Regions from separate parts of the Homo sapiens genome. Here all the other regions are linked to region 2. The links are contacts of gene promoters, found by promoter capture Hi-C in blood cells and fetal thymus (Javierre and others, 2016). All regions are on one chromosome and are shown on one strand. Each heading gives the region's core, a stretch centred on a gene start or on the middle of the fragment in contact. The rest is flanking DNA. Distances are from core to core; before and after follow the strand shown.

The links. Contacts are between HindIII fragments. The CHiCAGO score rates a contact against its expected background, and 5 or more counts as called.
Region 1: a contact is called between a fragment that was not itself captured here and the fragment with the promoter of AFDN-DT in region 2, in 4 of 17 cell types (endothelial precursors, M2 macrophages, megakaryocytes and 1 more). The highest score is 11.1, in endothelial precursors.
Region 3: a fragment that was not itself captured here is called in contact with the fragment with the promoter of AFDN-DT in region 2 in 1 of 17 cell types (endothelial precursors); the score reaches 6.3 in endothelial precursors.

The regions. Positions count from the first base shown.
Region 1 is chr6:167,490,968-167,495,221 of GRCh38, forward strand. No RefSeq gene overlaps it. Among named protein-coding and RNA genes, the nearest start is that of TTLL2, 170 kb to the left of the region's middle. RefSeq lists an enhancer at 1,906-2,813. The HindIII fragment of the contact is 6,893 bases long and covers 1-4,254 here.
Region 2 is chr6:167,824,816-167,828,967 of GRCh38, forward strand. It overlaps AFDN-DT (AFDN divergent transcript), which reads right to left and starts at 1,981. Exons shown (of 2, transcript NR_027906.1): 1 at 588-1,981. AFDN (afadin, adherens junction formation factor) reads left to right here and starts at 2,096. Exons shown (of 34, transcript NM_001386888.1): 1 at 2,096-2,422. The coding sequence starts at 2,318. RefSeq lists silencers at 1,065-1,134, 2,049-2,248 and enhancers at 1,719-1,788, 1,819-1,898. The HindIII fragment of the contact is 3,865 bases long and covers 643-4,152 here.
Region 3 is chr6:167,471,904-167,476,116 of GRCh38, forward strand. It overlaps LOC105378127 (a long non-coding RNA gene), which reads right to left and starts at 887. Exons shown (of 4, transcript NR_134591.1): 1 at 831-887. RefSeq lists an enhancer at 2,808-3,321. The HindIII fragment of the contact is 3,360 bases long and covers 502-3,861 here.

The DNA of each region.
Region 1 (4,254 bases), core at 1,755-4,254, 330 kb before region 2:
TGACTCCCAGTGCTACCTTAAATAACACGGTAAGGAAGGCCGTCATTGCCTTTTTCCTGGTCTTAAGGCGATGTGTTCAGATCTTCACCTTTAGGCATGGTGTTAGCAGTAGGTTCCATGTAATATTTTATGCACTGTATGAGTTTCTTATTGCTGTGTAACAAATCACCACAAAGGTACAGCGTTAAACAACAAATTTATACTCTGACAGTTCTAGAGATCCAAAATCTGAAATCAAGAAGATAGCAGGGTTGCGTTCCTTCCAGAGGCTCTAGGGGAGAATACACTTCCTTGCTTTTTCCAGCTTCTAGAAGCTCCCCACATGCCTTGGCTCAAGAGCCTTCCTCACATCACCCCAGCCCCTTGATCCACTGTCACATCTGTTTCTTTCATTCATTTGCCCTCCCCGGATAACCCAGATATCCATCTCAAGACCTTTATCTTAATCACATGGGCAAAGTCCTTTTACCATGAACTGTAATACAATCACAGGCTCAGGTATTAGGGTGTTGATCTCTTTGGAGGCATTATCTGCCCATCACACACTGTGTTATAATTGTCTGTTTACTTATCCTTTGCTATTTATTCCTCATCATGTTCCCAACATCTAACCGAGTAGCCAGCACACAGAACGGGCTCAGCAAATAGCTGCTGACCAGCAGAATGGGCGGCTGAGTCCATATTCCCTCCTTATCAGCCTTGGGAAACTGTGAGCCTGTTCTGGTGTTCTGCATAGGTACAGTGATTAGTTTCTCCTGAGCAGAGGACTGATGATAGTTGCTCTGATGTATACCAGCAGATTCATGGGGATCCTGGTAAGGCGTATTTGAATTTTGGCTTTAGAAAAGTCAAGGGATGGGTTTTCCACAGGTACAACCACAAAGCAAATGCTCGTCACCCCAGAATGCTCCCTCCTGACTCATGACGAGACAGACCAGGCAGACAGGAGATAAAGAGCTCTCTCCTCCTGTCCTCTGGACGCCCTTGGCTTCCAAAGCCGTGCTTTATAGATACACGCTTTATGTTGGCTGAAGTCAGCAGTTCGTCTTCTTTACAAAAGAATATTTGTCTTTGCCTCTTCTCTCTTCATTCTTCCTCCTTATCCCTGGCACTTGCCAAGCGGGTGCCAGCGTTTGCCGCCTCTCTCTGAGACCAGCCCTCCTTGGGCGGCTGCCTCCCCTTGCCCCATCTCAAACAAAGACACAGCAGCCGAGAAGACAGCCGGGCGGGTGGAGTGGGAAGAAAGCAAGTTTCGTTGGTTTTTCCAGGATTAACTCAGGGCTGGCTGGGTTGAGTAACTGAGGCCAGGTCATGGGTAGATCTGGCCGAGGGACTTCCGAGGTTTTGTTCCTGGGTGTGTCTCTCAGGCAGTGGGAGGATGGTGGCGCCGTCACCAAGCCTTGCAGCAGGAAGAGGAAGCCCCCACGAGGGAGGATAATGGGGAATTAAAGTCCCTAGATCCGCCTGGGAGGCTTGGGGACCTTGCCTGATGGGAAAACTTTGGTGTAATTTTTTAAAAAACAGAAAACAGGATTTTGTTTTTTCTTGCTCTTTTTAAATGAAAACATCAGTGTTTTTCATCAGGAGCACAACGGGCGTTTTCGGCAGGACAGGTCATCTGCAGACCCTGTGCTTGTACTGCAGGAAGCCTGGTCTCGCTGGGGCCTCTCAGGTGCCGGCAGCACCAGACTATTGCAAAAACTGAGGCACCCCAGTAGATGTTACTAAATGTGCCTAAAGGGAGCAGACTGCCCGCCCCTGAAAACCTGAACTCGGGTTATTTAAAAGGCTTTTTATTCACTGTTTGTAAAAACATAATGTCCTCTAGAAAGCCTGTTTTTCTGATAAGGCATGAAGAGGGAGGATATTAATTCGCATATTGATTGACTACAGCATTGAGGTGTCCCTTCTCCCCCCGGGGGATCGGCTTGCTGGGACAGCTCTGGGAGTCCCCGAGTAGTCACCTTTGGATACCATGTTGGCAGAATCTCAGGTCAGGATGGAGGAGCCTCTGATAGGCATTGAGTGGCCTTTAAATGACCCCATGCTGCTTCAAAGCCCACAGGACTAGTGTTTGCTTTTTGAAAAAATGACTTTCCTACATGTTCTCAGTAAAGAATAGAATCCACACACACTCCCATGCGCACACACTCCCATGCACACACACTCCCATGCACACACTCCCATGCACGCACTCCCATGCACACACACTCCCATGCACACACTCCATGCACACAGTCCCATGCACACACTCCATGCACACAGTCCCATGCACACACACTCCATGCACACAGTCCCATGCACACACACTCCATGCACAAAGTCCCATGCATGCACTCCCATGCACACACACTCCATGCACACACACTCCATGCACACAGTCCCATGCACACACATTCCCATGCACACAGTCCCATGCACGCACTCCCATGCACACACACTCCATGCACACACTCCCATGCACACACACTCCCATGCACACACACTCCATGCACACACTCACATGCACACACACTCCATGCACACAGTCCCATGCACACACTCCCACGCACACACACTCCCATGCACACACACTCCTATGCACACAGTCCCATGCACACACTCCCATGCACACACAGTCCCATGCACACACACTCACATGCACACAGTCCCATGCACACACAGTCCCATGCACACACTCCCATGCACACACTCTCATGCACACAAACATCCATGCACACAAACATCCTCGCACACACCCTCCCATGCACACACATTTTAGAAACGTGACCAGTTCCTTAGGGTGCTCTCCTTTAAAAGGGCAACAGGAAGGCTGGGGGTCAGTTGTGCAGCCTATACTTACCCTCTTCTGTGACCAAGAGCTCGGGGGTCCCCAGCTAACCTCCCCTACTGCTTTAGATATATGCATTTTTACTCATCTTTGATATTTTGGAAAAGACAACATGTTCCATGCAAGTCCCTTTGAATGCTGCCCCTGCAAGCCAGCTCAGAGGGAACACGCCCCTCCACACCCCCCGCACTAGGCCTTGGGTGCGGCCCGTCCGCCTCTCACAGAGCAGATGGCTGTGGCTCCCTCCAAGGCAGAGGTCACCCCGCCTGACCAGAACCGCTTGTGTTCTCTGGAGTGAATGGGACATGAGCGTAACAGGGGCGGGGAAGGCGGGAGAAGGGTTGAGGGGAATGTGTGGGATCTGCCTCCATCGAGCTGCAGGCGCGGGTCTGAGCCCTGATAGCAAGTGTGAGGGCTGGTGCTGACGCAGGGCTCCCCCGAGACCCAGTCGGGTGTGGAGCTGCCTGGGAGGAGGCCTGAGGGGGTGGGGGAGGCTAAGAACAGGAGAAGAAGCAGCTTTTTCTCATGATGGAGCGGGAGCTAAGAACAGGAGAAGCAGCTTTTCACATGGTGGAGTGGCGGGGCGAAGAACAGAAGAAGCGGCTTTTTCACATGATGGGGGGAGCTAAGAACAGTAGAAGCAGCTTTTCACATGATGGAGTAGGGGTGGCGAAGAACAGAAGCAGCAGCTTTTTCACGTGATGGGCCGCGGTGCTGGATTTTGTGCCAACCTGACTGGGCTGCGGGTGAAACATTATCCCGGGTGTGTCCAGAGGGTGTTTTGGGCGAGATCAGCATTTGACTCGCTGCACTAAGTAAAGTGGGTGTCCTCCCTGATGTGTGTGTGTGTGAGGGCTCATCCAGCAGCAGAAACCTCAACAGAACACGCACCAGGAACCCCCTGACCCCCGGAGGAGAGGGGAGTTCTTCCTGCCTCATAGCCTTCGAAGTGGGACCTCGGCTTTTTTCCTGCTTTTGAACTCGAGCAGAATCTTAAGTTCTTCTGGATCTCAAGCTGCTCCTCCAGACTGAAGGACCCCCGCGCCTCTTCGGGTCACCAGCTGAACCTCACGCAACAGATCCTGCGACGCACCAGCTACGGGGATAGTGGAAGCCGTTCCTCCCAATCAGTGTGTATCTGCCTCTCCCAGTGGTTCTGTCGCTCTGGAGAACCCTGACCAGTACAGCAGTGAGGTCCCATCATGCAGTTTCATGGGAAACAGAGGTGACTGGGCCGGAATGTGTCACACACACACACTCACACACACACATACATACACACACGCATACACACTTACATACACATACACACGCACACAGAGAGACACACATACACATATACACACTCACACACACAAACACGCTTATACCCAGATTTACACACTCACACGCGTACACTTACACACATTTATACACACATACAC
Region 2 (4,152 bases), core at 731-3,230:
ATAAAGAAACCGAGTGCTAGAACACGAAGATGACATTTAGACACAGATGCTTTTCTGCAAGTCACCACACTTTAATTTTAAGAAAGGAGACTAGCGATCTATTGAATAATTCATTCCCTCATGGCACTGGTTCAACACCCCAGGCTCCTCTGCTGAGAAGCCTCCTTATGTAGCTGTACTGGACAAGTGCGGTAGAAAAGACAGAACCCAGTGGGGATGACAGAATTCTTTAATTGTCTGCAAAAGAGGAAATCCAGTTGGTGGAGAGAAAAATTATTTCCACATTGGAAAAAAAAGTAATGACAAAAATAAAAAGGCTTTGTCAAATATAGTTCACTCTTCTCATTACTTGCCTTAGTGTTTCAAAGATAAACGCTTTTTGTTACAACACATCACAGATAACGCAACTTCGCCTGACTGAACCCGGCGTGGGGAGACTGCAGAGATGGCGCTCTGCAGCCAAAACAAAGGGTGGGGGAGGGGAGGGGCAATTACAAAAAAGACACCTTATGAAAAAAAATCCCTACAATTCACAAAGCTTGCTACTGAAATTAATTTCAGGTTTCCACGTCCACGGGGACACGTACAGGATTTAAAATGACGATCACGTGGCATCTCTCAGGGCCAAATGGGGCGCATCAAAGCTTCCCCTCGACGTTTATTAACTCTGCAGTCCGTTCTCTACGTCTGCGAAGAATTGGCAGATAACGATGTGTCTGAGAGAAGAGGCGTTTTCTAAGGAGACACACAAAGGGAGTGGGACCCTCCAACCTCACTCTGTGAGAGGAACACCGCACAGCAGTGTGGGGGCTCGAACACCCCAAGAGCGGCAGAGCGCGGTTCAGAAAACATGACCCTTGAAATGCACACAAAGCCTAACAACGTGTCCTCCGCGGAAGAAAACAGCTTGAAAAGGTCGGCTTTGAAGTGACCCAGCGGAAAGGAATCACCCTGGAAGAAACACGCAGCAGCCCCGGGGCAATGCGCGGGCAGGAGGAGCAGCGAGCGCGGGGAGCGCAGGGCCCTTCGGAGAGGGCGCTCCACCGGCCCTGCGCTCCGTACCTGTGCCGCCACGCCCACCGGTCCCCTGCTGAGCCTAGCACCGCCCATTTAGACCCAGCACCACCCGTCCGGACCGAACCTAGCACCGCCCGTCCGGACCCAGCAGCGCCCATTTGGATACTGCACCGCCCGTCCAGACCCAGAACCGCCCGTCCGGACCCAGTACCACCCATCGGACCCAGCGCCGCCCATTTAGACCCAGCACCGCCAGTCCGAACCGAACCTAGCACCGCCCATGGGACCCATCGCCCGTTCGGACCCAGCACCGCCCGTCCAGATCCAGCACTGCACCCCCATTTGGATCCAGCACCGCCCGTCCAGACCCGGACCCGCCAGTCCGGACCGAACCCAGCACCGCCCATCGGATCCGGCGCCGCCCATTTAGACCTAGCACCACCCATCCGAACCGAACCTAGCACCGCCCATCGGACCCACCGCCCGTCTGGACCCAGCACCGCCCGTCTGGAACCAGCACCGCCCGTCCACAGATCCATCACCACCCATTTGGACCCAGCACCGCCCGTCCCCGCCCGTCCGGACCGAACGCAGCACCGCCCATCGGACCCAGCAGCGCCCATTTAGACCTAGCACCGCCCGTCCGAACCGAACATAGCACCGCCCATCGGACCCATCACCGCCCGTCCAGATCCAGCACCGCCCATTTGGATCCAGCACCGCCCGTCCGGACTCTGCACCGCGCGTCCGGACCCAACACAGCACCACCCATCGGACCCAGCACTGCCCATTTAGATCCAGCAGCGCGCGTCCGAACCGAACCTAGCACCGCTGGTCGGGAAGGAACCCGGTACCGCCGGTTGGGACCCACCACCGCCAGTCCAGACGGAACCCTAGCACCGCGCGGGGCCCGCCCTCCGACACCTCCCTCCCTGGCGGCCGCGGCAGCAGCACCTAGTGGAGCGGCCCGGAGGTGCGGCGGCGCCGCGCGGGGCGGCGGCGCGCACGGCGGGCGGCGGCGCGCACGGCGGCGGGCGGGGCGCGGGCGGGTGCGGGCGGCGGGCGGCGGGCGCCGGGCGCACACCGGCCGGCGGGGCTGAGGCGGCGCGGCGCGGCGCGGACTGAGCCCCAGGCGGAGGCCAAGTCGGAGGACGCGGCGCGGCCGCGGAGGCGGAGGCAGCCGCGGAGGCGGAGGCGGCCGGCGGGGGGTGGCGAGGGGCGCCGGGCCCCCGCGGACCTGTCGTCCTCGGCCCGTCCTCCGGCCCCGGCCCCGCGCGGCTGAGGAGGCGCGGCCAGGACCATGTCGGCGGGCGGCCGTGACGAGGAGCGGCGGAAGCTGGCCGACATCATCCACCACTGGAACGCCAACCGGCTGGACCTGTTCGAGATCAGCCAGCCGACCGAGGTGAGCACCGCCGGGCGCGGGGCCTGCGCGACCCCCGCCCGCTGCGCCGCGCCCCGCCCCTCCCCCCCGCCGCCGCCCGCCAGCCGCGGACCCGCCCTCCTTTCCCCCTCCCCCCTCCGCCCCTTCTCTCCCCTCCCCCTCCCCCAGGCCCACCGCGGGCCCCGGCGTCCCCCGCAGCCCCCGTCCCCCTGCCGCGGTGTATCCCGGGGTCGCGCGGGCCGAGCGGGGGCTGGCGGGGCGCGGCAGTCACCTGTTCCCCTCTCCGGCCGCTCACCTGGTGGCTCACCTGGGCCGCCGCCCCCACCCCCGCGAGCGCGGCGCGGCCCCGGCCTCATCCCCGGCGGCGCGGGGGGCGCGGCGGCGCGCGGGGCCGGCGCCCTCCACCTGCAGCCCGGTTGTGGCTCGCGGCGCCCCTTCGCCGTGGCCGGGATGGAGCCTGTGACGCGCGCTGTGCTTCGGGTTCATAAACTTGCAGGCTGCCAGCTGGGAGGGGAAAGTCAGTATCACAAAGTTCGGGAGGTGCGGGCTGCCTGATGGCACAGGCCCGGAGTCGGACGCCTCCGAGGAAAGGCGCGCCTTCTCCACCTTCGGGGCCGCGAGGAAGGGCCCTCTGCGGCGGCCTCTGCCCGGAGGGAGGCGCCGGCCCCAGGCTGGCTCCCTGAGAGGAGGAGGAAATCACGCTCGCTCCTGGCCTGGTAACAATGGGGGTTGTTTATAGCAAAGCTGCTGAAAGCGTTCCGAGCAGCTTTTAAAAAAATGTTTGAGTCCAAGTCCACTAGGAAGGGCTCCGTGGAGAGGGGAGGGAGGTGAAGGGTCGGGGAGCAACCCTGTAAATCGCTCCGCAAGGGTCGGTTCCGCGCTCTGTTCATTCGGTGGCTGCACAGACTTTACCAGCATAAAAAAATTTCACTCAATATTTGTGCCCGTTTAGGAAATCATTTTAATAGCGTCTATTTTTGATTTGTTGTAATAGGTAATTTATAGTTAATACTTGCTATAAAATACTAGCTCCTAGGCAACAAAACATGTTTGGCAGATTTGAACATTCTTACGAAATGTAATCCTTTTATCATTAAATTCCACTTTATGTTTTTGAGAGAATTTGACTATTGCTTCTCTGATTTCTTGAGTTTTTGCCAGTCATGGGAAGGACTCTATTTCTTCTGTTTTCATCTGTACCTGTGACTGCACTTGACGTGGGTAGCTAGCCATTTGTCTTAATACTGAGTTGAATACTGACACACGCCATTAGGCTCAGGTTGTCAATTTGAGCATAGATGTTATGTTAAGTTACTCCTGATTCATTCATCTTCTGTAATGATTTTATGAGTTAGGTTCTAGTAAGGGAGTTAGTACTATGTACTTAAGTGTTCGTTCATAGACTAGTGTATCTTTAGAAAGGTGACATGATAATTTAGTTTCAGGATTATGTTTTCTTTTAGAATAATGAATTCATTTTTCTTTTTATCACAAGGTAAAAAAAGTTGACCATAAAACATTTTCTTGGTGTGTAGCTTTTTTTTTTTGTTTGAATGGATTTTTTTTTTTTTTGAGAGATTTCTCAAGTCTGGTGGAAAGGAATCTTTTTTCGGTTTAATAAAGAGAATTCAGCTTTTTGGGATTTTGAATTGAGTTAGCATTAAAAAAATCTCAAATCAGAAACATTATAGTTCATTGATTTAATTAAATTCTATTTTAAGCACTCAATTGAAACTTTTTATTTCTTAGTG
Region 3 (4,213 bases), core at 932-3,431, 350 kb before region 2:
CTTAAAACACACTTGGAGCCCGCTTGGCCACCGCACCCCAGCCACAGCCTCTCCATCCCAATTCAAATTCCCTAGAACAGTAGTCCCCAATCTTTTTGGCGCTAGGGACCAGTTTCACGGAAGAAAATTTTTCCATGAACAGTGGGAGTCGGAAGGTGGTTTCAGTTTGATTCAAACGCATTACATTTGTTGTGTACTTTATTTCTATTATGACACTGTAATATATAATGAAATAATTATACAACTCACCATAATGTCAAATCAGTGGGAGGCCTGAGCTTGTTTCCTGGCAACTAGAGGGTCCTGTCTGGGGGTGATGGGGACAGTGACAGATCATCAGGTATTAGAGTCTCATAAGGAGCGCGCAACCTACATCCCTCGCAGGCACTGTTCACAGTAGGGTTTGTGCTGCTATGAGAATCTAATGCTGCTGCCGATCAAACAGGAGACTGAGCTCAGGCAGTGATGCCAGTGATGGGGAGTGACTGTACATGCAGATGAAGCTTCACTGGCTCACCAGCTGCTCACCTCCTGCTGTGCAGCCTGGTCCCTAACAGGCTGCAGACCAGTACCTGAGACTGGGTAATTTATATAGAAAAGAGGTTTAGTGGCCCACAGCTCCACAGGCTGTGAGGGAAGCACAGTGCTGGTACCTTCTCAGCTTCTGGGGAAGCCTGGGGGAGCTTTTGTTCATGGCGGAAGGTGAAGCAGGAGCAGGGGTAGCATAAGAGCAGGAGCAAGGGTGGGTGTATTGGTCCATTTTCACACAGCTGATAAAGACATACCCAAGACTGCACAATTTACACAAGAAAGAGGTTTAATGAACTTACGGTTCCACATGGCTGGGAGGCCTCACAATCATGGCGGAAAGTGAAAGGCACATCTTACCTGGTGGCAGACAAGAGAGCTTATGCAGGCAAACTCCCCTTTATAAACCCATCAGGTCTCATGAGACTTACTCACTATCATGAGAACAGCACAGAAAAGACCTGCCCAGTGATTCAATTACCTCCCCCTGGGTCTCTCTCACAACTGGTGGGAATTCAAGATGAGATTTGGGTGAGGAAATAGGCAAACCATATCAGTGGGGGAGATGTCATACACTTTAAACTATCAGGTTTCCTGACAACTCATTAACTACTAGGAGGACAGCACCAAACTATGAGGAATTTGCCCCCATGACCCAAACACCTCCCACCAGGCCCCCCTCCAATGTTGGAGAGATGACAGTTCAGCATGAGATTTGGCAGGGACAGTTACCCAAAGCACTGCAGAATCTGACTGAACCAGACTGTGTTAAGTGAGTCCCTCACACAATCAGTCAGAATGAAGTGGCTCCCGGTGCATTGAAAATAAGTCCAAATTCCTTGCAAATCCAAGGGGGAGGTGTGGCAGGTGGCTTTGTGGCAGGTAGGGACCCTGGGCCTGCAAGGAATTTGGATTTATCATCAATAAAATGGTCTTCTTTCTCTTGCTTCACCCACTGGCTCTTTGTTATGTGGACTGCATTCCTTTCTTTGCTATTTTTGTATTCTTTCTCCCCTTTTCCCCATTACTGGAAATTTCCACAGCAGAAGAGAGCCCAGCAGTGACTGAGGGGGAAGAACTAGCTGTTAGAGCTCTTCTTAGAAACTGGGTCTGGTTTGGGAAAGAGGGTGATGGTGGGGAAGGCGACAGGTGGGGCAGAGGGGAGGGAGGATGATGAGGGAGAGGCTGAATGGGTGAGTTAAGGACCTGTCCCAGGTGGCAGCTGGGCCACGGTAGAGCTGGACTCAGACACAAGCATCCCACTCTTGTTGTGTGTCCCGTTATGCACCCAGCACTGCTTAGGAGAATTGCTGTCCTTTTATTTTCACTAAGTTGAGGGTTGATTGACAGCTATTTTTGGTTCTGCTAGGAAAGGAAGCTGTCAATGAAAGCAGGAAGGTGATAGTTCCTGGGATCTGAACACAGCCACTTCTGTCTCCTGTATCCTGGGCAGGAGTGGAGTTGTGGGACCACTCGGTGTCCAGCCCTATACCCTACACAGCTGTGGGTGTTTCTGCCTCTTTTGGAATGGGCCAGTCCTGATGGTGTCAGTCTTTCAAGAAGGGTCCCGGGCTTCGGGCAAGTCAGGTCTCCGCCTTCACCAGTGACCCCAGTTCTGGCGGCTGCTGTCTCTGCACTGGGCCTTCCACCTGCTGAGAAGCACGGCTGAATCAATGTGTCTTTTCTCATCAATGATATTTAGAAGTGCGGGAAAGGCATTTAATGGATTCTGATAGATTTATTTCCTGCGTTGCTGACTCTATGTATGAGATCAGTAAAATGGGAGGACTTTGCGGTTTTTTTTCTGGGAGGTTATTTTGATTGTCTGACAAAAACGTTAAAGGAGAGAGGTGGCGTTAGTGTATTCCCTCCCCATCCCATGAGGGTTTGACCCATGAGCAGCCCCGTGCCAGGGCTGTCGTCTGCAGGTGACTTACGGCATCAGCAATGCAGGCCCCATCAGAAGGAGCCACCTCACTGCATTCCTGGTGCCCTGAGATGCCTCCAGCCACTCCTCTATTGCAGAAGGCTTTCTCCTGGGAACTTTCTTCTTGAAATGCAGATAGTTCAATGGTTCTATGGTGAGGCTGGGCCGTTTCATGACAATTTTCCCTTCACAGTGCTTTGGCTATCCCTGCAGAGTGAGGTTGAGGAGACACAGCCTCAGCCACAGCTCTGGAAGGGCAGAGCCCTTGCTCCACAGACCCGAGGCTGTGAGGATGGCCCAGGAGGGAAGGAAAGGCCCTTACCAGGGAGATGGCTGAACCAGGAAGGCAGGGGCAACAGCTCATTGCATGGAAAAGGCCACCCCTCTGGGCATGGGCACCACCACCCTCTGGGCCTGGCTGTTTCTACCTGGGCCTCTGTGCCAGCATCACAAGCATGCAGGGAGGGATGCACCTACACAGCAGCCAGTGCCCTCAGGAGGCAATTGTGGAAGGTCCAGATTGCAGGTGACCTCAGCCTGCAGCCGACTTCAGAACCCATGTCTGCTGAAGTTGGTTCCACCTCAGCCCCACAGCCTGGGAGGAGAACCCTGCCCAGAGGCAGGGCCCAGGGCTTCTCTCGGCACCAGGAGGCACTGCCCTGCCAGGGAGAGCACAGAACTCAGAGTGCAAGTATTTCCTTCATAGAAGGCTCCAATCCACTGTTCATACTGGCATTTCGAAATCAGTGTTCAGAATCCATGCATTCTTTAAAAAAAATCCTAAACCTTTCAAATGCAAAATTTATAAACAGGATAGAAATAAAAAATGTACATTTGTAAAAGTAGAAATATGAAGTATGTATTCTTTATAACTACCTATGAATAGATATTTCTTAAATGTGCTAAATGCTACACAAAAAAGGACAATAAATTATTAATGACAAATGAAAATGAAATATTGTTATGTATTTCTTAACAGTGTGATCTTAAAAATCACAGTGCATCTACAATGATATTTTTGTAACAGAAGCATATGTTCGGTCAAGTTTTCACATGTGCAGAGAAAGCTCTTCCAATATTCTCAAATCAGGCATTTATTTATCTTCATCTTTTTTTTTTTCTTTTTTGAGACAGAGTCTTGCTCTGTCACCCAGGCTGGAGTGCAGTGGCGCCGTCTCAGCTCACTGCGGCCTCTGCCTCCCAGGTTCAAGCAATTCTCCTGCCTCAGCCTCCCAAGTAGCTGGCATTACAGGTGCCCCCCACCCTGCCTGGCTAATTTTGTATTTTTAGTAGAGATGGGGCTTCACCATGTATAGATAGAGATTCTAATGTAGGATGGTGGTCATGCTGACTTTCTACTGTTCCAAAAGTATCTGGAACCATGAAATAATTATTCCTATAACAGAAGCTTTGCTTTGTCCATTATCCTCGTCTTCCTCCTCTTGAAGATTTTGAAGGTATAGAAGCTTGCTTTCTAAAAATATTTTTCTTGGTTTGATTTAAACATTTTAAAGCAGTGTTTAACATCATGGTATTACTTCACGAAACAATCAGTAGTTCAGGATTCGGGGTGATATCCTATGTATTTAGCACCTAGTCCCACATGGGCAGTGGCCAGTCAGAATGAAGGCCAGCTCACTGCCCTGGCTACCAAATACCGAGGGTCACTTAAGCACCAAAGGCCTGGCTGAAACCTGCCACTGCAGGTGGTATCACGTGCAGGGGGTATCACACTGGCAAGACACCCAGCAGTATTGA